7 separate regions of the Homo sapiens genome follow, and regions 2, 3, 4, 5, 6 and 7 are each linked to region 1. Evidence: promoter capture Hi-C in 16 types of primary human blood cells and fetal thymus (Javierre and others, 2016). All regions are on one chromosome and are shown on one strand. Each heading gives the region's core, a stretch centred on a gene start or on the middle of the fragment in contact. The rest is flanking DNA. Distances are from core to core; before and after follow the strand shown. Region 1 holds the start of WDR73 (WD repeat domain 73). Region 2 has its middle 160 kb from the start of PDE8A. Region 3 overlaps PDE8A (phosphodiesterase 8A). Region 4 overlaps PDE8A (phosphodiesterase 8A). Region 5 overlaps PDE8A (phosphodiesterase 8A). Region 6 overlaps PDE8A (phosphodiesterase 8A). Region 7 has its middle 11 kb from the start of PDE8A.

Evidence for each region. Contacts are between HindIII fragments. The CHiCAGO score rates a contact against its expected background, and 5 or more counts as called.
Region 2: a fragment that was not itself captured here is called in contact with the fragment with the promoter of WDR73 in region 1 in 1 of 17 cell types (fetal thymus); the score reaches 5.5 in fetal thymus.
Region 3: a fragment that was not itself captured here is called in contact with the fragment with the promoter of WDR73 in region 1 in 1 of 17 cell types (M1 macrophages); the score reaches 5.2 in M1 macrophages.
Region 4: a fragment that was not itself captured here is called in contact with the fragment with the promoter of WDR73 in region 1 in 11 of 17 cell types (total B cells, naive CD4 T cells, naive CD8 T cells and 8 more); the score reaches 11.5 in total B cells.
Region 5: a contact is called between a fragment that was not itself captured here and the fragment with the promoter of WDR73 in region 1, in 3 of 17 cell types (naive CD4 T cells, naive B cells and total CD4 T cells). The highest score is 8.5, in naive CD4 T cells.
Region 6: a fragment that was not itself captured here is called in contact with the fragment with the promoter of WDR73 in region 1 in 1 of 17 cell types (naive CD4 T cells); the score reaches 5.6 in naive CD4 T cells.
Region 7: a fragment that was not itself captured here is called in contact with the fragment with the promoter of WDR73 in region 1 in 11 of 17 cell types (naive CD4 T cells, fetal thymus, neutrophils and 8 more); the score reaches 9.3 in naive CD4 T cells.

What each region holds. Positions count from the first base shown.
Region 1 is chr15:84,652,573-84,655,777 of GRCh38, reverse strand. WDR73 (WD repeat domain 73) reads left to right here and starts at 1,495. Exons shown (of 8, transcript NM_032856.5): 1 at 1,495-1,544; 2 at 2,079-2,146; 3 at 2,976-3,064. The coding sequence starts at 1,504. NMB (neuromedin B) reads left to right here. Exons shown (of 3, transcript NM_021077.4): 3 at 369-646. The coding sequence ends at 404. RefSeq lists enhancers at 1,509-1,748, 1,175-2,142. The HindIII fragment of the contact is 10,475 bases long and covers 1-3,205 here.
Region 2 is chr15:85,143,919-85,147,123 of GRCh38, reverse strand. No RefSeq gene overlaps it. Among named protein-coding and RNA genes, the nearest start is that of PDE8A, 160 kb to the right of the region's middle. The HindIII fragment of the contact is 3,940 bases long and covers 1-3,205 here.
Region 3 is chr15:85,084,909-85,088,113 of GRCh38, reverse strand. The region is part of intron 6 of PDE8A (phosphodiesterase 8A); the gene reads right to left. Among named protein-coding and RNA genes, the nearest start is that of PDE8A, 100 kb to the right of the region's middle. The HindIII fragment of the contact is 355 bases long and covers 1,417-1,771 here.
Region 4 is chr15:85,042,971-85,046,175 of GRCh38, reverse strand. All of the region lies in intron 1 of PDE8A (phosphodiesterase 8A), which reads right to left. Among named protein-coding and RNA genes, the nearest start is that of PDE8A, 63 kb to the right of the region's middle. RefSeq lists an enhancer at 1,640-1,719. The HindIII fragment of the contact is 641 bases long and covers 1,442-2,082 here.
Region 5 is chr15:85,017,529-85,020,733 of GRCh38, reverse strand. The region is part of intron 1 of PDE8A (phosphodiesterase 8A); the gene reads right to left. Among named protein-coding and RNA genes, the nearest start is that of PDE8A, 37 kb to the right of the region's middle. The HindIII fragment of the contact is 5,799 bases long and covers 1-3,205 here.
Region 6 is chr15:84,991,442-84,994,646 of GRCh38, reverse strand. All of the region lies in intron 1 of PDE8A (phosphodiesterase 8A), which reads right to left. Among named protein-coding and RNA genes, the nearest start is that of PDE8A, 11 kb to the right of the region's middle. RefSeq lists a silencer at 1,755-2,049. The HindIII fragment of the contact is 8,126 bases long and covers 1-3,205 here.
Region 7 is chr15:84,969,738-84,972,942 of GRCh38, reverse strand. It overlaps a transcript of SLC28A1 not described here. Among named protein-coding and RNA genes, the nearest start is that of PDE8A, 11 kb to the left of the region's middle. The HindIII fragment of the contact is 6,079 bases long and covers 1-3,205 here.

The DNA.
Region 1 (3,205 bases), core at 246-2,745:
CATGCAGACCAACTAGAGAATCTCAGAAGCAGCAGTGCCTACGTCTGGGGCTTCAGAGTGAGGTCTGGGGCAGAGCTGGGGTGGGGGAGTGAGGACGCTGACACTAGCCCAGCACCAAGCACTGTATTTGGATTTTCTTCCACGATCTTCTTTGACTGTCATGACCACCCTGGGTGGTTGGGGCTGTGTTCTGAGAAAACTACTGCCCCGACCCCTCCAAGGCAATTCAGGGTGCTCTGGGGCCTGCCTCAGCTGACAGCCTGCTGGTGCCCACCTCTGCAGACATCTGGCACTTAGGAATGGCAGGATGCCCCTATCTTTATCAGGAGCCCCTCCCTGGCTCAATTCTTCTGTATGTTTCTCTTCAGTACAGGAGGCTGCTGGTACAAATACTGCAGAAATGACACCAATAATGGGGCAGACACAACAGCGTGGCTTAGATTGTGCCCACCCAGGGAAGGTGCTGAATGGGACCCTGTTGATGGCCCCATCTGGATGTAAATCCTGAGCTCAAATCTCTGTTACTCCATTACTGTGATTTCTGGCTGGGTCACCAGAAATATCGCTGATGCAGACACAGATTATGTTCCTGCTGTATTTCCTGCTTCCCTGTTGAATTGGTGAATAAAACCTTGCTCTTTACATACAATGCCTGGTCCTCTCCTTTCACCCGTCTTTTAGGGGATGGGAGGAAAAGGGGGCTGGAGGGCAGAGTGTTCAGTGAGATGGGGCTGGCTCAAAAAGTCCAGAATACCCCATGCCATGGCACCAGCCTGGCACTGACTCTGGCCTCCTACCCATTCATTCAGCAAGCAAATAACGCCTGTTGCATGCCAGGCTTCGTGCCAGGCGCGGGGTTCTACTCTCATCTCTGCCACCTACTGGCGCAGGCAAGTGTCACTAGTTTCCTCGCTAGTAAAAGGGGGCTGCAGACACTACACTGCCGGGCTTTACTCAATACCCCCGCCGGACTTGGAGGGGAGCGCCGAGTTGGGATCCAGACCCTGCCGGCCGCTTCCTCTCTTCTCTGGCCGTCAGAAGGGTTGCCAGCGTTAGCAAATAAAAATACTGGACACCCAGTTAAATTCGAATTTCAGATAAACAATAATTTTATCTAATAAAATGTACCAAATATTGCATGAACATACTCGTAAGAAAGAAATTATTCACCGTTTTTCTGAAATTCGAATTTAACCGGGCGGTCCTGTATTATTTCTGGCCTTGGAGCATTCATTGCCCCTCTCTTGGGCTGCAAACACCTGGCCCTAAAACGGGCGATCATTTGGTCCTCAGGTCCTGCTTGGAGCTGACAGCGGGAAAGTCCCGATTTCAGGTCACTTTTCCCGGAGCTTTCGCGGAGAAAACCCGTAACCCACCCATGCCGGGCCGCAGCTCAGCCTGTTAACCCCGCCCCTAACGGGAGGCCCTGCCCACATCTCGCGAGAGCCGCGCGGCCCCCGAAGGCTCGCAGGCGGAAGTGAGACGCCGGAAGCGGTCGTTGCCATGGATCCTGGGGACGACTGGCTGGTGGAATCCTTGCGCTTGTAAATCGTACGGGGCTGGGACATGGGAGCTGGGCCTGGAGCTTGCCTGGCGGGCGGATGGGTGTGGGTGGAGGCACGTTGGGGATCCTGGTGCAGAGTGGGCCAGCTGTGGCCTCGGGGCTCGCCACCGTGGAGGACTCCGCCTGGGCCTAGGCCCCCATCTCTAGGAAATGGCTCCTTCCTGCGTGCGCGCGTTGTGAGATTACTAGTAAGAGCCGCGCTTGTGAAGACGCAGTGCCCAGTTAGTTTGCGCCAGCCTCTGAGTTCAGCTCAGAACACAGATGATCTCATTGATTCCTCACGTCAACCTTGGGAAATCTGGGTACCCTGGGACGTCCACACATGAGGACCGAGGCTCAGGGACATCAAGGGACTGGCCTGGTCCCAGAAACAGGGAGTAAAATGGGAAGTAAACTCAGTCCCACGTCTGCCTGACTCCAGAGTTTGGGCCACTGAACCATGCGGCTGCCATCTTGGAGTTCTTTGAGCTGTGAAGTGCTGTGCATCGTGTGATTCTGTGTCCCTTTTGTGCAGGTACCAGGATTTCTATGCATTCGACCTGTCAGGAGCCACTCGAGTCCTTGAATGGATTGATGACAAAGGTGGTATACCTTTCTAGCCCTGAAGGAGAGGGAATCTCACTCCTGAGCTGGGTTTCAGGAGCTAAGCCTAGAGGGACCCAACCCACTCTTCTGGGCACCTGAGAGTCACTTGTAGCAATTTGATGCCCCATCAGCACTAATATTCCTCTTATTAAGATCTCTGACCGGGAGCAGTGGTTCACGCCTGTAATCCCAGCACTTTGGGAGGCCGAGGCAGGCGGATCACCTGAGGTCAGGAGTTCGAGACCAGTCTGGCCAACATGGTGAAACCCCGTCTCTACTGAAAATACAAAAATTAGCCGGACGAGGTGGTGCACACCTGTGTACCAGCAGCTACTGGGGAGGCTGAGGCAGGAGAATCACTTGAACCCAGGAGGTGGAGGTTGCAGTGAGCTGAGATCACGACACTGTATTCCAGCGTGGCTAACAAAAAAAGTCTTCAGGCTGGGCACTTCAGGAGGCTGAGGCAGCGGGCAGATTGCTTGATCCCAGGAATTTGAGACTAACCTAAGCAAGGAAACCCTGTCTCTACAAAAAATACAAAAATTAGCCGAGCATGGTGGCTCACGCCTATAATCCCAGCTACTCTGAAGGCTGTGGTGGGAGGATCACTTGAGCCTGGCAGGTTGAGGCTGCAGTGAGCTGTGATCGGACCACTGCACTCCAGCCTGGCTGACACAGCGAGACCTTGTCTGAAAAAGACACAACCAGGTACTCAATTCCTCCATACAAGGCTGCACAGTGAAGGAATGTATCCTTACTTCGGGGGATTGCATGGTCTGCAATCTTTCTAACAATTTGTGACAGCTACCTCTGCTTCTTTTTCCAGGAGTCTTTGTTGCTGGCTATGAAAGCCTGAAAAAGAATGAAATTCTTCATCTGAAATTACCTCTCAGACTTTCTGTAAAGGAAAACAAGGTAACTTAAAATATAAATGCTGAGTATGTCAACTTTTATTTATTTATTAAACATTTGTGGAGCTCCTGTTATCTACCAGGTATTGTCCTGGATACTAGAAAGAGAGAAAGCGCTAGGCCTGCCCTTCTAGTCTAACAGAGG
Region 2 (3,205 bases), core at 277-2,776, 490 kb before region 1:
CCAAAGTGCTGGGATTATAGATGTGAGCCATGGTGCCCGGCCCTAGAAGTATGTTCATTAATCTCCACATATTTTGAATATTTCCAATTGTCTTTCTGTTATTGATTACAGGTTAATTCCATTGTCTTCTGAGAGAAGATACTGTCTGATTTTTATTTTTAATTAATTAATTAGGAAACAGGGTTTTGCTCTGTTACCCAAGCTGGTGTGCAGTGGTGCAATCGTGGCTTCTTACAGTCTCGAACTCCTGGGCTCATGTGATTCTACTACCTCAGCCTCCCAAGTAGCTGGGACCACAGGTGTGTACCTCCACACCCAGTCATTTTTAGAATTTTTTGTAGAGACAGGGTCTCACCATGTTGCTCAAGCTGGTCTTGAACTCCTGGGCTCAAGTTGACCCTCCTACCTTGGCTTCCCAAAGTGCTGGTATTACAGGAATGAGCAACTGCACCTGGCCTAATTTGTTTTTTTTGTTTTTTGTTTTCTTTTCTTTTTTTTGAGACGGAGTCTCACTCTGTCACCCAGGCTGGAGTGCAGTGGCACCATCTCGGCTCACTGCAAGCTCTGCCTCCCGGGTTCTCACCATTCTCCTGCCTCAACCTCCCAAGTAGCTGGGATTACAGGTGCCCGCCACCACACCCAGCTAATTTTTTTGTATTTTTAGTAGGGACAGGGTTTCACCGTGTTAGCCAGGATGGTTTTGATCTCCTGACCTCGTGATCTGCCCGCCTCGGCCTCCCAAAGTGCTGGGTTTACAGGCGTGAGCCACTGCGCCTGGCCTAATTTCCTTTTTTAAATGTGTTAAAGTGTGTTTTATAACCCAGGATATGGTCTGTCTTGGTGAATGTTCCATGTGGGGTTGAGGAGAAAGGGTAATCTGCTGTTGTTGGCTGAACTAGTCTATAGATGTCAGTTATATCCAGTTGACTGATAGTGTTGTAGGATTCAACTATGTCCTTACTAAATTTTCTGCCAGCTGAATCTGTTTACTTCTGATAAAAGAGTGTTGCAATCTCCCAGTGTAATAGTGGATTAATCTTTTCTCCTTACAGTTCTATCAGTTTGGGGCTCATGTAGTTTGATATTATGTTGTTTGGTGTATACATGTTAGGGATTATTATGTCTTGGAGAAATGATCTCTTTATCATAATCTAATGACCTTCTTTATCCTTGATAACTTTCCTTGCTTTTAAGTCTCCTCTGTTTGCAATTAATGTAACTACTCCTTTCTTTTTTTTTTTTTGAGACAGAGTCTCGCTCTGTCATGAGGCTAGAGTGCTGTGGCGCGTTCTTGGCTCACTGCAACCTCTGCCTCCCAGGTTCAAGCGATTCTCCTGCCTTAGTCCCCCTGAGTAGCTGGGACTACAGGTGTGCAACACCACGCCCAGCTAATTTTTGTATTTTTAGTAGAGACAGGGTTTCACCATGTTGTCTAGGATGGTCTTGCTTTCTTTTGATTAGTGTTAGTGTGGTATATTTTCTCCATCCATTTAATCTATGTGTTTTTCATTTTTTGGGTTTTTTTTTTTTTTTTTTTTTTTTTGAGACAGAGTTTCGCTCTTGTTGCCCAGGCTGGAGTGCAATGGCATAATCTTGGTTCAACAACCTCTGCCTCCTGGGTTCAAGCGATTCTCCTGCCTCAGCCTCTCGAGTAGCTGGGATTACAGGCATGTGTCACCACACCCTGCTAATTTTGTACTTTTAGTAGAGACAGAGTTTTTCCATGTTGGTCAGGCTGGTCTCGAACTCCTGACCTCAGGTGATCCACCTGCCTCTACCTCCCAAAGTGATAGGATTACAGACCTGAGCCACCGTGCCCGGCCTGGCTTTTTTTTAAAAATGGGTGTGGCTCTCACTATGTTGCCCAGGCTGGTCTCAAACTCCTGGCCTCAAGTGATCCTCCCACCTTGGCCTCCCAAAGCCCTGGGACTACAGGCATGAGCCACCACATTTGGCCTCAAATATTTCTTCTGTTCTTTTCTTTCTGTATTTTCCCTCTGCTATTCTTATAACATGTATATTACAACTTTTTAGCTCCATAGTCCTTGGATATTTTGCTCAGTCCTATTCTCTTTAATTTTCAGTTTTGTAGGTTTCTATTTGACATGTCTTCAAGCTGAGAGATTCACTCCTAATTCATGTCCAGCCTATTAATGAGCCCATCAAAAGCACTTTTCATTCATTCGCAGTGTTTTTGCTATAAACAAAACAGTGCTTTCCTCCTCTCTTTGCTGGAAGTATGAGGGAATTTTCCTGTTATATTTACTGTGAGAACTGTGAAGCTCTTGGAGGTAAAATTCACGAAAGTGCAGGCGGGGGGCACCCCTTATAACTGGGTTCCCCAGGAGTTTTAATTCTTAGACTGTCCACATTGAGCCTCCACCAATTCTTCAATTACTGACAGGTTCTTCTACCCTGGCACTGGTTCCCATGGTGGTTTCCACTCATGAATCTCTGCTCCAGTAAGATATAATTTCCTGTATTTGCCTGCTGGTCTCTCCTATCTTAGGGGCAGCAGTTTGACTTGTATCCTCACCTTTCTTACAGATCTAGGAAGAGCTGTTGATTTTTCAGGCTGTTTAGCTTTTTACTTGTTAGAATGAAGTGGCGACTTTCAAGTTCCTTACATGCGGATCTGGAAAATAAGTCTCCTCATTCTTTTTTACAGTTGCATAGTATTCTGTTGTATGGTCATACCTGTAACTTGTTTACTTACTCTTCTTAAATGATAGACAATTTGTTTCCAGTCTTTTACTAATATAAGTAGTAAATAATAAATAATTTTGTAGACTATTATTTCCCACGTGTAAATATCTTTAGGCTAAAATCCTGGAAGTAGAATTGCCAGGTCACACTGCATGTACATTTGCAATTTGGATAGATTTGGCAAATTTGTAATTAGGTTGTACTAATTATACTCACCTGCCATGTCATTTCCACTCATTCTTCTTTTTTTTACCACCCACCCCCGCCCCCTCCCCGAGAGAGTCTTGCTCTGTCACCCAGGCTGGAGTGCAGTGGCGCCATCTCGGCTCACTGCAACCTCTGCCCCCTGGGTTTAAGCAATTCTTCTGCCTCAGTCTCTGGAGTAGCTGTGATTATAGGTGCCCGCCACCACGCCTGGCTAATTTTTATATTTTTAGTAGAGACAGGGTTTCACTATGTTGGACAGGCTGGTCTCAAACTCCTGACCTTATGATCTGCC
Region 3 (3,205 bases), core at 345-2,844, 430 kb before region 1:
CCAGGAAGCAGAGGTTGCAGTGAGCCGAGATTGCATCACTGCACTACAGCCTGGGCTGGGGATAATAAAAATGTTCTAAAATTGTGATGACTGAAGCACAACTCTATGAATATACTAAAATCCTTTGACTATACCTTAATAAGGCTGTTTAAAAATAATAAGATCAAATAACCTGAAATCCCAATACCCAGACGTCTCAACATTCTATTTTATAGAAAAAAATCTAATTATTTTCAATAAGCATTGAAAAATGTTCTAGGCATTAACTTGTACAAATGCATATGTAATATGCATACAAAAACAAGATCATACTCTACAGTTTTATAATCTGCTTTTCTCACTGGCACACTATACATTAATCTTTCCATATCAATAATTTTCATTCTTTATCATCACTTTAAATAACTATATAATATTCTAAGATTATATTATGATTTATTCAATAAATCCCCTATCACTAGACATTTAGGTTGCTTCCAGGTTTTTTCCTTGTATAAGTAATCTCCCAAAGAATGATTTTAAGATTCTCTGGCCTCAGAAGATGAAAAAAAAGAAAACTGCCTGCTTATAAAGTGCAGAGATACTACTAAGTAAACTCTAAAAATAACAATGCTGGCCAGGCACGGTGGATCACACCTGTAATGCCAGCACTCTGGGAGGCAGAAGTAGGCAGATCGCTTGAGTCCAGGTGTTCAAGACCAGCTGGGCAACATGGCAAAACCCTGTCTCTACAAAAAATAAAAAATTAGCTGGCCTGGTGGTATACATCTGTAGTCCTAGCTACTTGAGAAGCTGAGGTGGGAGGACTGCTTGAGCCCAAGAGGTCAAGGATGCAGTGAGCAGTGATCACACAACTGCACTCCAGCCCAGGCAACAGAGTGAGACCCTGTCTCTAAATAAGTAAATAAAAAAAACAATGCCTTTACATTATTGCTGGTATTACTAAACTGTCTCACTAAAGACAATAGCTTAGCCAATAAAAATTAGCTCATTTTTAGCATGTAAAAAAAACCAGGAGATAATATGTAAATTTATAGCTCAATAAAGTTGTTATTAAAAAAAAAAAAAAAAGCAAAAAACATGCTGGGCATGGTGGCTCACACCTGTAATCCTAGCACTAGTCAGAGTTTGAGACCGGCCTGACCAAAATGGTGAAACCCCGTATCTACTAAAAAATACAATAACAACAAAAAATTAGCCAGACCTGGTGGCACATACCTCTGTAATACCAGCTACTTGGGAGGCTGAGGCAGGAGAATCGCTTGAACCTGGGAGGTGAAGGTTGCAGTGAGCAGAGATCATGCCACTGCACTCCAGCCTGGGCAACGGAGTGAGACTCTATCTCAAAAAATAAAAAAATAAAAAATAAAAAAAGCAAAAAACAGTAAGAAGTTCTCACCTCCAATATAACAAGCTTGGCGGAGATGGATCTGTGAGAAGCCCTACTGGGTTTTATCATACTTTTTTTTAACTTTCGCAGATACGGTAAATAAAAAAATGTTAAATCATTTGCATGTCTTTATTAGTGAGGTTGAACATCTTTTCACATTTATTGGCCATTAATATCTCTTGTGAACCACTTGAACATGTCTTTTAATATTTTTCTAATTTTTAATTGATCATTTTTCAATTGATTAATCAAAGCTCTTCATGTATTTATGAGGATATTAACCTAATGTCTGTCCTATATGTTACAAACATATTTTTCCCAGTTAGTCATTTGTCTAAATTTTGAACATTATTTAAGGTTTATTTTAACTGTAGATAAGCTTAACATTTTTATGTTGTCTAATCTGATTATCTTCCTTTATAAAATGTGGCTTTTATAAGTGTTAGTTTATAATGACTTCGTCATCCAATTATGTATGTCCACTTTTATTTTTTAGTACTTACGTAGCCCTACTTTTTCACATTTAAGTCTTTAATTCATTGGAGTTCATTTTGCGGGTAGGACATGAGATTGGAACGTAGCTTAACTTTCTTTCCAGCTAGTCAACCAACTATCACAACTCTAGTCACTGAAAAGTCCACTTTTTCCCGTGTTGATTTAAAATGCCATGTAATCATATGCTAAATTCTTTTTTTTTTTTTTTTACTTTTTGAGATGGAGTTTTGCTCTTGTTGCCCAGGCTGGAGTGCAGTGGCTCGATCTCAGCTCACTGCAACCTTCGCCTCCCGGGTTCCAGTGATTATCCTGCCTCAGCCTCCCAAGTAGCTGGGATGACAGGCATGCGCCACCACGCCCAGCTAATTTTTTGTATTTTTTTTAGTAGAGACGGGGTTTCATCATGTTGGCCAGGCTGGTCTCGAACTCCTGACCTCAGGTGATCCACCAACCTCAGCCTCCCAAAGTGCAGAGATTACAGGCGTGAGCCACCCTGCCCAGCCGATCATCTACTAAATTCTTAAATATATCCAAGTCTGTTTTTTTTTTTTTTGAGACAGAGTCTTGCTCTTGTTGCCCAGGCTGGAGTGCAATGGCACGATCTCAGCTCACTGCAACCTCTCCTGTCTCAGCCTCCTGAGTAGCTGGGATTACAGGTGCTCACCACCATGCCCGGCTAATTTTAGTATTTTTAATAGAGACAGGGTTTCGCCATGTTGGCCAGGCTTGTCTCGAACTCCTGACCTTGTGATCCGCCCGCCTCAGTCTCCCAAAGTGGTGGGATTACAGGCATGAGCCACCGTGCCCGGCCTGTTTCTGGTTTTTATATTCTAGTTTACCAATCTAGCAGTAACACCCCTGCTTGTTACAGCTTTTTAGTGCATTTTAGTATCTGAAAGAACAAGACTCTATTTCTCCCAATTCTCTAGCCTCACATTTCCTTTCCCTTTATATTTTTATATCTCCCTGTATAATGGACATCATAATTTGGCTGCCAGCTGGAGCACAGAGAACAAAGCAGGGCATGATGGGAGATGAGGACAGAGAGGTAAGCAGTGTACAGACCATGGAGACCCTTGTAGGCTACATTTTGGAGTTTGGACTTCATCTTGAACGCAGTGGGTGCCTATCTGGGGTGTCATAGAACAGGAACACAAATGGAATTGTGTTACGTCTGTGTGGAGAATGAAGAAGGAGTCAAGACTAGACATAGGGAGACTAACTGGTGGTTTCAATAATCCAGGTAAAAAGAGAGGGACCTAGACTAAGAGTAGCAGTAGAGATGAAGATTAAGTGGACAGATTCCAAAAATTAGTAAGA
Region 4 (3,205 bases), core at 513-3,012, 390 kb before region 1:
GGAGGGATTGAACCTGGGAGGCAGAGATTGCACTGAGCTGAGACAGAGCCACTGTACTCCAGCCTGGGTGACAGGGCGAGACTCTGTCTTAAAAAAAAAAAAAAAAAAAAGAAACAGAAAGAAGAATCTTACGAAGAGCCTAAGTCCTAGGAACTACAAAACAATCATATGATCGATCTCTTTTTTTCCTTCATCCTTTTATTAGAAACAGAAAGTTATCCTGGGGTCAATTTACATTAATTGTATACAAAACCCAGGAACTGCAGTAAAGACATAAATCCAATTTTGGTCTGAACCATACTATCCCTTCAGGCTTTCCATGTACAACCAGTGACCATCTGTTTCTCTCTCTGGACAAAGAGAAATAATGTGATCAAAGGGACACAGCCTGGAAAGAGTCAGGAGATACCAGTTCTTAGGTGTGGAAGAGTCTAAATCCAGACACTTGTGGACCACCTATTACTGTAAGACAAGTGCAGTGCTAGATACTAGGAGTACAAAGAACCTAATCCTGTCCCTTGGGTAGCAGGAGAGGAAAATGCAAATAACAACATGGTCCAGTCAGTTTTAATAGAAAAAAGTATCTAACACGTAAATACTTTGGATCCAATCATATTTAAGTCCAATTTAGTTCTTACCTTATGAGCAAGGTAAGCTCATTAACTCCATTTTATTGATGAAGAAGCTGACACTCAGAGAAGTATGGTCAAATAGTTGGTAAGCAGTAGTTGCAGGAATGGGACCCAGTTCTGTCTGAATTTAATTCCTGTGATCTTTTCATGCTCTATTAGGAAAAGTCTAAAATAACCTGGCCGTAATCTGTATCTAGCTGGAAAAAGATCAAGAAACTGGAAAACAGCATTTATCCTTCTGACAGATCTTTACTGAACATCCACTATGTGCCAAATGGTCTCCTAGGCATTGAGGATTCAATAGACAGCAAGACAGACAATATCTCTGATTAACAACAGGGAAAGATGTGATGGAGAGTAACTGAATCAGAGTCAAGGAAGGCCCCTCTGAGGCAGCAATGCAGGAGGTGAGATCTGAATGACAGGAAGTAGCCAACCATGCAAGAGGTGGAGGAAGGAGTACCAGGCAGAGGAACAGCTAGTGCACAGGACCTACAGTGGAAATAAGGTGGGACACTGGAGGAAACAAAGAGGAAGAAGGTCAAGAGATGAGGTTACAGCTAAGCAGGGGCCATACAAAGAAGGTCATGAGATGAAGTTACAGCTAAGCAGGGGTCATACGATGCAGAGTTTTCTAAGGCAGGACAAGACATTTGAATTTTATTCTAAATTTCATGAAAAGCCGCTTAAAGGTTTTATACAAAGAAGTGACATAATCTGATTCTTCTTTCTAAAAAAGATGTCTTTGGCTGCCAATGGAGAATGAACTACGGGAGGATGAGAGTAGAGGCAAGGCCAATAAGGAAGCTTCTGCAGTAGTCCAAACAAGAGAAGATGGTGGCTTGGCCTGGGGCCGGCCACAGAGATAAACAGATTTAGGATGTGTTTTGGAGAGAGTGATCAGGACTTGCTGATGGACAGGACACTGATTCCATCACTAAGATCCACTGATTCCTAGACCAGAGTTCTGATTATCTGATTTGCAGTTTTCTATCATTGTGGCATGGAAATTTGGGGCTCTGCAAGGCATCTTAGTAGCAACTGATGTGCATCTGCTTGGTCCTTTCCAGATCCACCCACAAGATGGCACCAAGGTCTACTCTTGAGGCAAAGTTCTCAGCTGCTTTCCCTGGTTCTTCTCCCAGACTCTTTATCTGTCCCCCACTGTCATAGTCTCTTTCCTCCCCCTACCTGTTCCTGATTTTCCCATCAGTCGATTTAAACAGTAAATATTTACTGTGAACCTTGTGTATGTTACCCTGACTGATTGCAAATTCTAGTTATATACTGGGGTGAAATCATGCACATCCTTTTTTCCCAAACCCGTAGTGTTGGGCAAAAAATGATATCCAGATTAAATAAGCTATTTCAAGTAGTTACCACAATGCCTGACAATGAGTAAATGCCCAATAAATTCTAAATATCTACAGCAAATATTTTCCAAGAAGCTTTTGCTATGAAATTATAATTCTATAATGCACATACATATTACAAGGCATTTTTTTAAACTGTATTTTTCCAAAGCACTATTTCTTTCAGAACACACTGGCTGGGTGTGGTGCCTCACGCCTGTAATCCCAGCACTTTGGGAGGCCAAGGTGGGTGGATCACAAGGTCAGGAGTTCGAGACCAGCCTGGCCAATATGGTGAAACCCTGTCTCTACTAAAAATACCAAAAATTAGCTTGGCGTGGTGGTGGGCACCTGTAGTCCCAGCTACTCAGGAGGCTGAGGCAGGAGAATCACCTGAACCCGGGAGGCAGAGGTTGCAGTGTGCCAAGATCACACGACTGCACTCCAGCCTGGGCGACAGAGTAAGACCCTGCCTCAAAAAAACAAACAAACAAACAAACAAACAAACAAAAAACCATTAATTTCATGATACCTTGAAATACTGTACAAAGTAGGATCTAGTTCTTAAATATCGTATTAACGTATTAAATACAGGGGACAAATGTAAGTTTTCCCGAAATGTTAAAATTACCTTTGAAAGTAAAACTAGTAAGAATTAACCCATAGAAAAATGAGAATAGTCAACTATAGGAGAGATAACCCAATCCGAGATCTTCTTCAAACATGTCACTGAGATCTGAGGATCCTCAAATCCAATGTGGCAATCTGAGGTATAAAATCATGGAGGCCAGACTAGAATCTACCTCTTCCCTCCACCCTCCCAAAAGACAAAACTGATCACTTGCCTATTCATCTGTCAGAATGAAAAGGGGGGTCTACAGGCTGCCCCAGGGAGCAGGGAGCCAAAGGTTGAGAACTCAGTGCTATTTATTTAACTCCCTTCTAAAGAAAAACTGAATTCAGCAGGCATGGGTGATATGGATACCAAATCAATTGATTAACAAATTAGCAGCATGCCTCTCTCTCAGATGAATCTATTTCAGGAATATTTACATTTGTCAATCATGTTTCTGTAACACACTGTATATTCAGACAGAGAGCCTTGTCTGGAGGTTCTACAGCTGTTTGCCTGCATACCTGATCACTACTAGCATCCTGACTGCAAAGGCCAGCCTAGGTTTTATTGGGTTGGCTAATGAGCTTTAATGAGATTTAAGGAGA
Region 5 (3,205 bases), core at 327-2,826, 360 kb before region 1:
AAAATATTAGTAACATTTGGGCAATCTGGGTAGAGACTACGCAGGAATTCTTTGTACTTTTTTTGGTAAATTTTCTCTAAGTCTAAAATTATTTCAAAATTAAAAAAACTTTTTGTTGTTGTTTTGTTTGTTTGTTTTGAGACACAGTCTCGCTCAGGCTAGAGTGCAGTGGTACAATTTTGGCTCACTGCAACCTCCACCTCCCGTGTTCAAGCACTTCCCGTGCCTCAGCCTGCCAAGTAGCTGGGATTACAGGCACGCGCCACCATGCCCGGCTAACTTTTGTATTTTTAGTAGAGACAGGGTTTCGCCGTGTTGGCCAGGCTGGTCTCAAACTCCTGACCTCAGGTAATCCACCCGCCTTGGCTTCCCAAAGTGCTGGGATTACAGGCATGAGCCACTGCGCCGGGCCCTTGTTGTTTTCTTAATGCCCAGAGCTGTGAGAAGTATGAGGAAAAACTCGCCAAAACCACAACTGTGACTGAAGGACTTCAAAACACTACTCTCCTTCTTTGGCAGACAGATCACATAAAAAATAAACACAGACAGAGAATTGAGAAGATTAGTAATCTTGTGCCTAAGAAAGAATACCTATTATTTGCCAATGACCATGATCATTTAAATAAAGGGGCAACCATAAACCTCCTTCTTTGACTCATTTCTGACTTTACTGGTGGCTCCATTTGTAATGTAGATCACCAACCACCCGGCCTGCAAAGTGCCAGAAGAGAGACTAAGAAGAGAATCCTAGTCACAGGAAGCCAAAAAAAAAAAAAAAAAAAAAAAAAAACCAAAAAAAAACTCCCCCAAAGTTCTCCAGAGACCCAAGAGCCTTTTCGAAACATACACACTGGCCACGCATAGTGGCTCATATGCCTGTAATTCCAGCACTTTGTGAGGCCAAGGTGGGCAGATCACTTGAGGTCAGGAGTTTGAGACCAGCCTGGCCAACATAGTGAAACCTCGTCTCTACTAAAAATACAAAAATTAGCCAGGTGTGGTGGTGGGTGCCTGTAGTCCCAGCTACTTGGGAGGCTGAGGCAGGAGGATCACTTGAACCTGGGAGGTAGAGGTTGCAGAGCCAAGATCATGCCATTGCACACCAGCCTGGGTGACAAGAGCGAAACTCTGACTCCAAAACAAAACAAAAAAAACCCCACAAAAATAATGAATAGTATTAAGAAGCCAAGCACAGTGCTCCTGTAATGCCAGCTATTCGGTAGGGGCTGACATACGTGGATCGTTTGAGCCCAGGAGTTCTAGTCCAGCCTGGGCAACACAGCGAGACCCCATTTCTTTAAAATAAAATTTTAAAAGTGTTAAGAACACTCATAAACCCATCACTCAAATCAAAAATTTTTTAAATGTTGATACATTTGCTATGTCTATCTTTTTGACTGTAGTATTTTCAAGAAAATCCCTCACATTTTTCACCCCTAAATACATCTATGTGTGTATGCAGATTTTTCTACTCAACCACAATTCCATTTTCACACCTAACAAAATTTAAAAATAACCTCTTAATATCATCCATCACTCATATACATTTCCCTTACAGAAGAGTTTTTAACTCCTAAGTTCCTCACACCAAAACCTTTTACCCCAGCAAGTTCACAATAGTGAACTGCCCTTACCACCAAAGGGCAACCTCTTTAGAGATGGAAGCAGGGAGGCAGCAAGGCTTGACCAACTACACCTCCCAAGTAACTATACTGCTAGGAGAGTCTATAAAAAAGGACAATTTCTACATGATGCAAAAATACCAAAATCCATTTTTAAAACAGAGGAAAAATATTTTCATTATACAAAGAGTAAATAACCTTAATGTAAATGGTACTTACACCCCAAAGTAAAAATGATCCAAGAGCATTAAAAATGGCAAAGGTGGATGTATCAATTCCAAAAAATACATTTAAAATATTCTTACTAGTAATCAAATAAGTACATATTCATATAACAACTTGCTATTTGTCATCCAAATTAGCAAAGATTTTTTTGAAAAAAGAATTCATACTGGTAAAAATGTGGCTCTGCAAGTGTGTAAAATGGAGAACAATTTGTCATTATGTTCCAAAATCCTTACTCTATTTCCAGGAATTATCCTAAAGAAAGCATAAGATATATACACATAATTATAGAAACAAGCATTTCATGGCAATGTTACTTATTCCTAATACTAAAAAAAAGATGATGTGAGGGTTAACCATCTACCCAATAGTAAGAGACTGGTTAAATAGATCATGGTTTGCCCCTAAGATGGATACTAGAGATTGACGTTGCTTAAAGTGTGGCCCGTGGACCAACTGTTAATAATCCACAATGAAATAAAGAGTTTAAGACAGAATGCAGATCAACCACAAAAATTTTTTAACAACAAAAAATCCTCAAGGAAGAAATCAGTAAATGAGTGTGGTGACTTACATCTGGCATAGACTCATCTTGTCCTGAAACAGTAAGAAACAGTTTATCTACATGACTATTTTAATTAGTACCACTACAGACTCTACTTCCAAAATATATCCCAAGTTTGCCTATATCCCTCTACATCTACTGCTACCATGAAATCCAAACTACTTCTCTGAAGAGCTGCAAAAGTCCTGTAGTTAGCCTACTGCCACTTCTGTTGCTCTACAATCTACTTTTCACTTGATAGCCAAAGTGGTTGTTTTGAAACGCTCATCAAACCATACTTATTCTGGATATTATAACTACAGAATTGAGAGTAGAAATAATCACAATATCTACCACCACCATCCTGGGCATATCTCATCCATACTTTGAAAAGAAGCAAAAAACACAAAAACTTTCTCCACATAATTTCCTCCCACTATTGCTTTTTTTTTTTTGAGACGGAGTTTCGCTCCTGTTGCTCAGGCTGGAGTGCAATGGCGCGATCTCGGCTCACTGCAACCTCTGTCTCCCAGGTTCAAATAATTCCCCTGCCTCAGCCTCCCTAGTAGCTGGGATTACAGGTGCCCACCACCACACCCGGCTAATATTTATATTTTTAGTAGAGACAGGGTTTCACCATGTTGGCCAGGCTGGTCTTGAACTCCTGACCTCAAGTAATCCACCCGCCTCAGCCTCCCAAAGTGTTGGGATTACAGGCGTGAGCCACCGTGTCCGGTCTTATTCCTTTAATAAAAGTGTAAAAGTCTGCTAAATATTAATGGGGAAAAACTAGAACTTTCCTGACAAAGTTAGA
Region 6 (3,205 bases), core at 281-2,780, 340 kb before region 1:
AGTATGATAGGTAGAAGAATGGATACATGGATATATGTGATAAAGCAAGTACAGTAAAATGCTAATGTAAAATACAGGCATTGGGTACACAGGGGTACCCTGTGAAAAATCCTTCAAGATTGCTGTATTTTGAGATTTTTCATAAAATGTTAAAAATACTAAAAAACAGTAAACAGCCACAAGGCAGCCTTCTGGAATGCTGGAAATGTTCTGTCTTGATTTGGCTGGTGATTACATGGGAGCATGAGGAAAATTCATCAAGCTGTACACTTAGGGATTTTGTACACCTTGGCTGATTACATTTATAACTCAATAAAAAGTGTTTTTAATACAGCAATCAGAATAGGACTTTAAAGTGAGTGTAATTAATATCCTCAAAGAGATAAGGAAGTATGCTGCAACCATAAAACATGAATAAGCAATTAAGAAAAAAGAGCAAACCATAGACTGAAGACAAAAACTCAAATTTAAAAACTCAGTGGGCTAAAGAGCTGAGTAGACCTTGAGGAATGAATTCGTGACTTAAAATATTGAGCTAAAAAATCCTCCCAGAAGATAGCACAGAGAGGGGAAGTAAAAGAAAAGTGAAGAGACACGGAGGACAGATCAAGATGCGTCTCAATCTATCTTTTGGAGGGAGCTGCAGAAGAGAAAATGAGAAAACTTAAGGGGACAACATTTAAATAAATAATAGTTAAATGTTTCCTAGAACTAAAAAACAAAACTGCTTAAAAAATATTTTTGTTTTTTGCTTTTTAAGAGACAGGGTCTCACTCTGTCACCCAGGTTGGAGTGCAGTGGCACAATCATAGCTCACTGCAACCTCAAACTCCCAGCCTCAAGCAATCCTCCCACCTCAGTCTAAGTAGCTGGGATTACAGGTGTGCACCACCATGCCCAGCTAATTTATTTATTATTATTTTTTTTTATAGAGAATGGGGGTCTTACTATGTTTCCCAAGCTGTTCTCAAACTCCTGGCCTCACGTGATTCTCCCATCTTGTCCTCCCAAAAGTGCTGGGATTTACAGGCATGAGCCACTACGCCCAGCCCAAAAAAGTTTTTAATTATAGTTATTTAAAGCAATCTACATGGATGGAAGGAAACACACCACCATTTTAAGAGACATTATCTCCTGACTGTGCAATTTAAGTGATTGTACAATTTAAGTGATCCTTGTTCTTTTTTTTTTTTTTTTTTTTTTTGAGATGGAGTCTCGCTCTGTCGCCCAGGCTGGACTGCAGTGGCGCGATTTCGGCTCACTACAAACTCTGCCTCCTGGGTTCATGCCATTCTCCTGCCTCAGCCTCCCAAGTAGCTGGGACTACAGGCACCTGCCACCACACCCGGCTAATTTTTTGTATTTTTAGAAGAGACGGGGTTTCACCGTGTTAGCCAGGATGGTCTTGATCTCCTGACCTTGTGATCCGCCCGCCTTGGCCTCCCAAAGTGCTGGGATTACAGGCATGAGCCACCACGCCCAGCCGATCCTTGTTCTTTTCTATATGTTTCAAGTTTTCTACAATGAATATGACTTTTACAATCAGGAAAAGTAAAAGTTTATTTTTATAAGATGAACTCAGAACCAAAAGACAAGAAAGGTTTTTTAAAAACTCCCTAAATTCGCTTTCCTGTGACTTCTCCCTTATGCTATTACAGTGAACCTGTTTCTGTAAGTGGTCACCACAAACTTGAACAAGTCATTCAATCTCTGAATTTCTGCTTCTTTAGGCCTTAAACAGGGAAAATAAAATCCCTCCTTTCCACCTCCCCATGGTTTGGGGAACATCAAATGAGATGAGGTACAAAAATAGCATTTGGTAAACCATAAAGCACTGTACAAATTGTGGCATGTTATCACAGTCCTTCTAAGCTGGTAAACCCCAACCTCTGAGTCACCCTCCACTCTCCGCCCTTTCACTCACCAAGTCCAATTTGTCACTAGTCAGTTTTTCCTTCTCTCATTCCCTCCTCTCCCAAACTACTGCACTAAGTTAGTCATACCTGGTCATACCTTGTGCCTGAACCACTGCAATAGGTCCTGCATAGTGCCCCACCTCTAGCTGTCCCTCACCCCACCTACTGCAATTTTTGCCTGAAACCTAATCTTCATGAAACATGTTTATCCTTTGACTACCCCGCTGAAAATGAAATGCCTTTGGGAGTTCTCTGAGGTTTATAGGATGGACTTCAAACTCCTCAACCTGGCTTTTAGACCTCCCGTCCTATCTCTGGTCAGCCTCCTCATAATTGGAACATGCACCCAACCCCCGTACCCTTCCTTCCCCTTATCCAGAGATATATTTTCCACTTATCCACATCCTCCCAGTCTTTTAAGCCCAGGTCAAACCTCTCCCTCCTTTCCTCTTTCTATACCTTATGACCAATCCAGACCAAGCTCTTGCCTCCACAATCCATCCCCCAAGGTGCCATCATCACTTCCAGGTCAGAGACCTACCCCACCTTTCCAGAAAGGACTAATTGTTCCCTGAGAGCAGGGCCTGTTATCCTCCTACAGCCTCTATATTAGGCACTCAAATTAACATGCTAAACATTTAAGTCCTTAAAATAAACTTTATTTGCCTGAACTGATTTTATGGTAAGTTTTAACACCTATGTGTGTATTACTATATATTGTTTAGCTATTAATCTTTTTTTTGTTGTTAGAGATGGGGTCTTGCTATGTTGTCCAGGCTGATCTCAAACTCCTGGCCTCAAGTAATCCTCCTGCCTCGGCCTCCCAAAGTGCTGGGATTACAGGTGTGAGCCACCACTCCCAGCCTATCAATCTTTAAATAAAAAGAATCATAACTTACAGATTTTTTGATGGCTTCTTCTTTCTCTCCACTGAGATTTATCAAAGTTAATATCTAAAACTATAATCCATTTTTCACAGCTGTGAAGTATTCCTTTCTTTGAACATATCATAACTTTTTTATCCATTATGTTGTTAATGGACATTTGGGTTTTACAGGAAAGTTTGGAATTAAAAGTAATGCTGCTCTGAAAATTCTCGTACATGTTTCCAGTAAAGATATATAAGAGTTTCTAGAAGAGAAGCTGCTATGTCACAGGGTCACATATTCAACTCTACCTGGCAATGACAATGGGTTTTTCCCTAGTAGTTGAACTAATTTACACCTCTACTTAATGTTGAGCAGTTCCTCAAAATACTGCCAACCTTTTAAATGTCTGCCAATTTGATG
Region 7 (3,205 bases), core at 406-2,905, 320 kb before region 1:
CCTGGGAGGAGTCCATTCATCCTCATCATTGGCTGACAAGAAAAATAACCCCTCCCACAGAAAAAGAGAGATCTATTTTTCAAATGTGTGTATACACCTTTGTGTTTGGTAAATTACGTGGTCATTCAAAGGTGTTATTGAATTCATGGGGGCATTTGTTATTTCACATTTTCTCAGTTGGGAGAATAGAAGCATAGCTACCAATGTAGCTCCGTGGAAATTGGAGAATGTCTTGAAAGTCCAAAGGAGTCTTAGTAAAAGTTCTTTGAAAGCCCTGGCTACCCCTAGAAGGGTACAGTGGGACCCTGATGCAAGGGGGCCTAGGAGCTTGTTGCAAAGGCTGTGGCTAGAAGTATTGAGATTATTGTGAAGGTGATGATGATAATGATGAAGATGGTAATGAACACAATTGCAGCTGACATTTGTTTAGCCCCTTCTAAGATGCTGGACACTGCTAAAGTCCTTTATAATAATTTTCTTCTTGAGCCTTTACAACAATACTCTGAAATGGGTATATCATCATTCCTATTTTATAGATGAGTAAACTAGGTCTTACACCAGGGAGGTGACTTGCCCATGGTCACAGGGTGAAGACCCAAACCCAGGCCTCTCTGAGTCTGAAATCTATGCTATTGATCATCATCTCACATGTTTCTGTTCCACATATGATCTGTTGGGGCCTCAATCCATTTCTTTCCATCCCTTTCCTCCAACCAATTGGTTTTTAATTGGGTCTGGCCAGTGGAAGTACTGAAGAGATGAGAAGGCTGGAGGAAGGGAAAAGCCATTCTGGCTCTGGCAGTGCCAGTGGTTCTGGCTGGATTAGGGGCTGGATTATTGTGTAGGGTGGGGGCAGCCCCTCTAGCAGCTCAGCAATGACATGTATGGGTGCCTGGAATAAAGCAGCTTCCTAATCCCTGGGAAACATCCATGTCTTAGTCCATTTGTATTGCTGTAAAAGAATACCTGAAGCTGGCTAATTTATAAAGAAAAGAGGGCTGGGTGTGGTGGCTCATGCCTGTAATCCCAGCACTTTGGGAAGCTGAGGCGGGATGATTTTGAGCCCAGAAGTTCGACACCAGCCTGGGCAACATGATGAAACCCCGTCTCTATAAAAATACAAAAATTAGCCGGGTATGGAGGCACGTGCCTGGCGTCCCAGCTACTTGAGGGGCTGAAGTGGGAGGATCGCTTGAGCCTGGGAGGTGGAGGTTGCAGTGAGCTGAGATCGTGCCAGTGTACTCCAGCCTGGGTGACAGAGTGACACCCTGTCAAAAAGAAAAGAGAAGAACAAGGGAGGGGAGGGGAGGGGTGGGGTATATTTGGTGTACATTCTGCAGGCTGTACAAGAAGCATGGCACCAGCATCTGGTTCTGGTGAGGGCCACAGGCTGCTTCCTCTCATGGTGGAAGGGGAAGGAGAACCGGTGTGTGCAGATCACATGGTGAGAGAGGGAGTAAAAGAGATGGGGATGGACCAGGCTCTTTTTAACCAGCTCTTGTGAGAACACTCTAATAAAGCAAGAGCTCGCTCATTGAGGATGAGGATGGCACCAACACATTCATGAGGGATCTTTCCCTGTGACTAAAACACCTCCTTTTCAGTCCCACCTCCAACACTGGGGATCAAATTTTGACATGAGGTTTGAGGGGGACAAACATTCAGACTATGGCACCCCTTATCATATTTTTGTTCTCTAGCCCTTTCAACAGCTTTGTAACCAATCCTCTTCATTAAAACTTGAAATATCTCTGTGGTTTCCATTTTCCTGGCTGGCCACTGACTGATACAGTCTCATTGACAGGGATGCCTGATAGGGGTTGCTACTGTCATTTGCAGATGGTATCACTGCCAGCTGCTGCCAGAATAGTTCGCTGAGATCAACAAACAGCAGATAAGGCAGTGATGGCATTTGAACCTGCAGCCGGCCAGGAGAGCACTTGCCCACTGTGCCCTTGAACTTCTCATTGGCATTCCACTGGGGCTGGAGGCATAACAGACGTCAAAGGCTTGAGTCAGCTCTGAAAATTACATCTCAGACTGGCCATGGACTTAAGGTGATTTTATATTTTTTTGTTTTGTTTTGTTTTTTGTTTTTGTTTTTTTTTGTAGATATGAGGTCTCACCATGTTGCTCAGGCTGGTCTAAAACTCCTGGGTTCAAGCAATCCTCCTGCCTCTGCCTCCCAAAGTGTTGGGATTATAGATGTGAGCCATTGTGCCCGACCCTTAAGATGATTTTAGAAGGGAAAGTTTTCACAGAGAATCAGATTCTTAGTTCCATGCTCGAGTTGCTCTAGGCCATAAGCAAAAGGTGAGAACCAAATTTACCCCCGACTGCCACCAAGTCCTGTGGCACTTGACTTGAGGAAATCTCGCTCAAGCTCAGGTCCCCATCTGTGAGGGGAGGAGCTGAGCCGTAAAAGACACAGTTCGTTTTCTGTCCAACCAACATCTATTCCCCCCTCACCTACTTCCCACTTTTCTTCCTGTCCTGTATAGACCCTTCCCATGCACAAAGGGTCAAGGTTGATTGGTTTCAACCAACTGTGGTCACTCCTTTCCACATGTGAGAGATTGGTTAGTCACGGGCATGTGACGCAACCATGGCCAATGAGATGTATGGGGTGGTCTTGGAGGATGGTGTGGAGAGGGGCTTCTGAGAAAGTCTCCTTCCTTCTAAAAAAGAGACTCGAGAAAGATACCTAACCATTTTCTGCCTCTGGAATGACTGGGTGAGAAAGCAATACCTGGAGCTGTTTCAGCCATCCATGAGCAAAGCTGCTAGCACCTGGGGATGGCAGAATGGAAAGATGGAAAGAACTTGCGTCCCTGTCCCAAGTGTAATCACAGAGCTGCTGAAATTCACCAACCCTAGAACCATCCAACATTTGAACTCTTTGCTACTTGGTGTAATACATCTTTGTTGTTTAAGCTATTTCTAGTTAGGTCCTCTGTCACTTGCAGCCAGAAGCATTGTACTTTACATATTAGGCCATTAGTCAAATCCCTCTGTCCTTATTACATGTAACATTTTGTGATTCAACTTCTTCTGTTTTCAAAGAAAGAAATCAAGGCTCGACGAGAGAGAAATAATTGAAGGCTATGCCATACATGTGTGGCATAGCCAGGACCCCTGGGATCCTGCATTCTCTCCCACTACACCCCTTTGCCCAAGCCCTTTACATAGCGATGGAGATTATTGC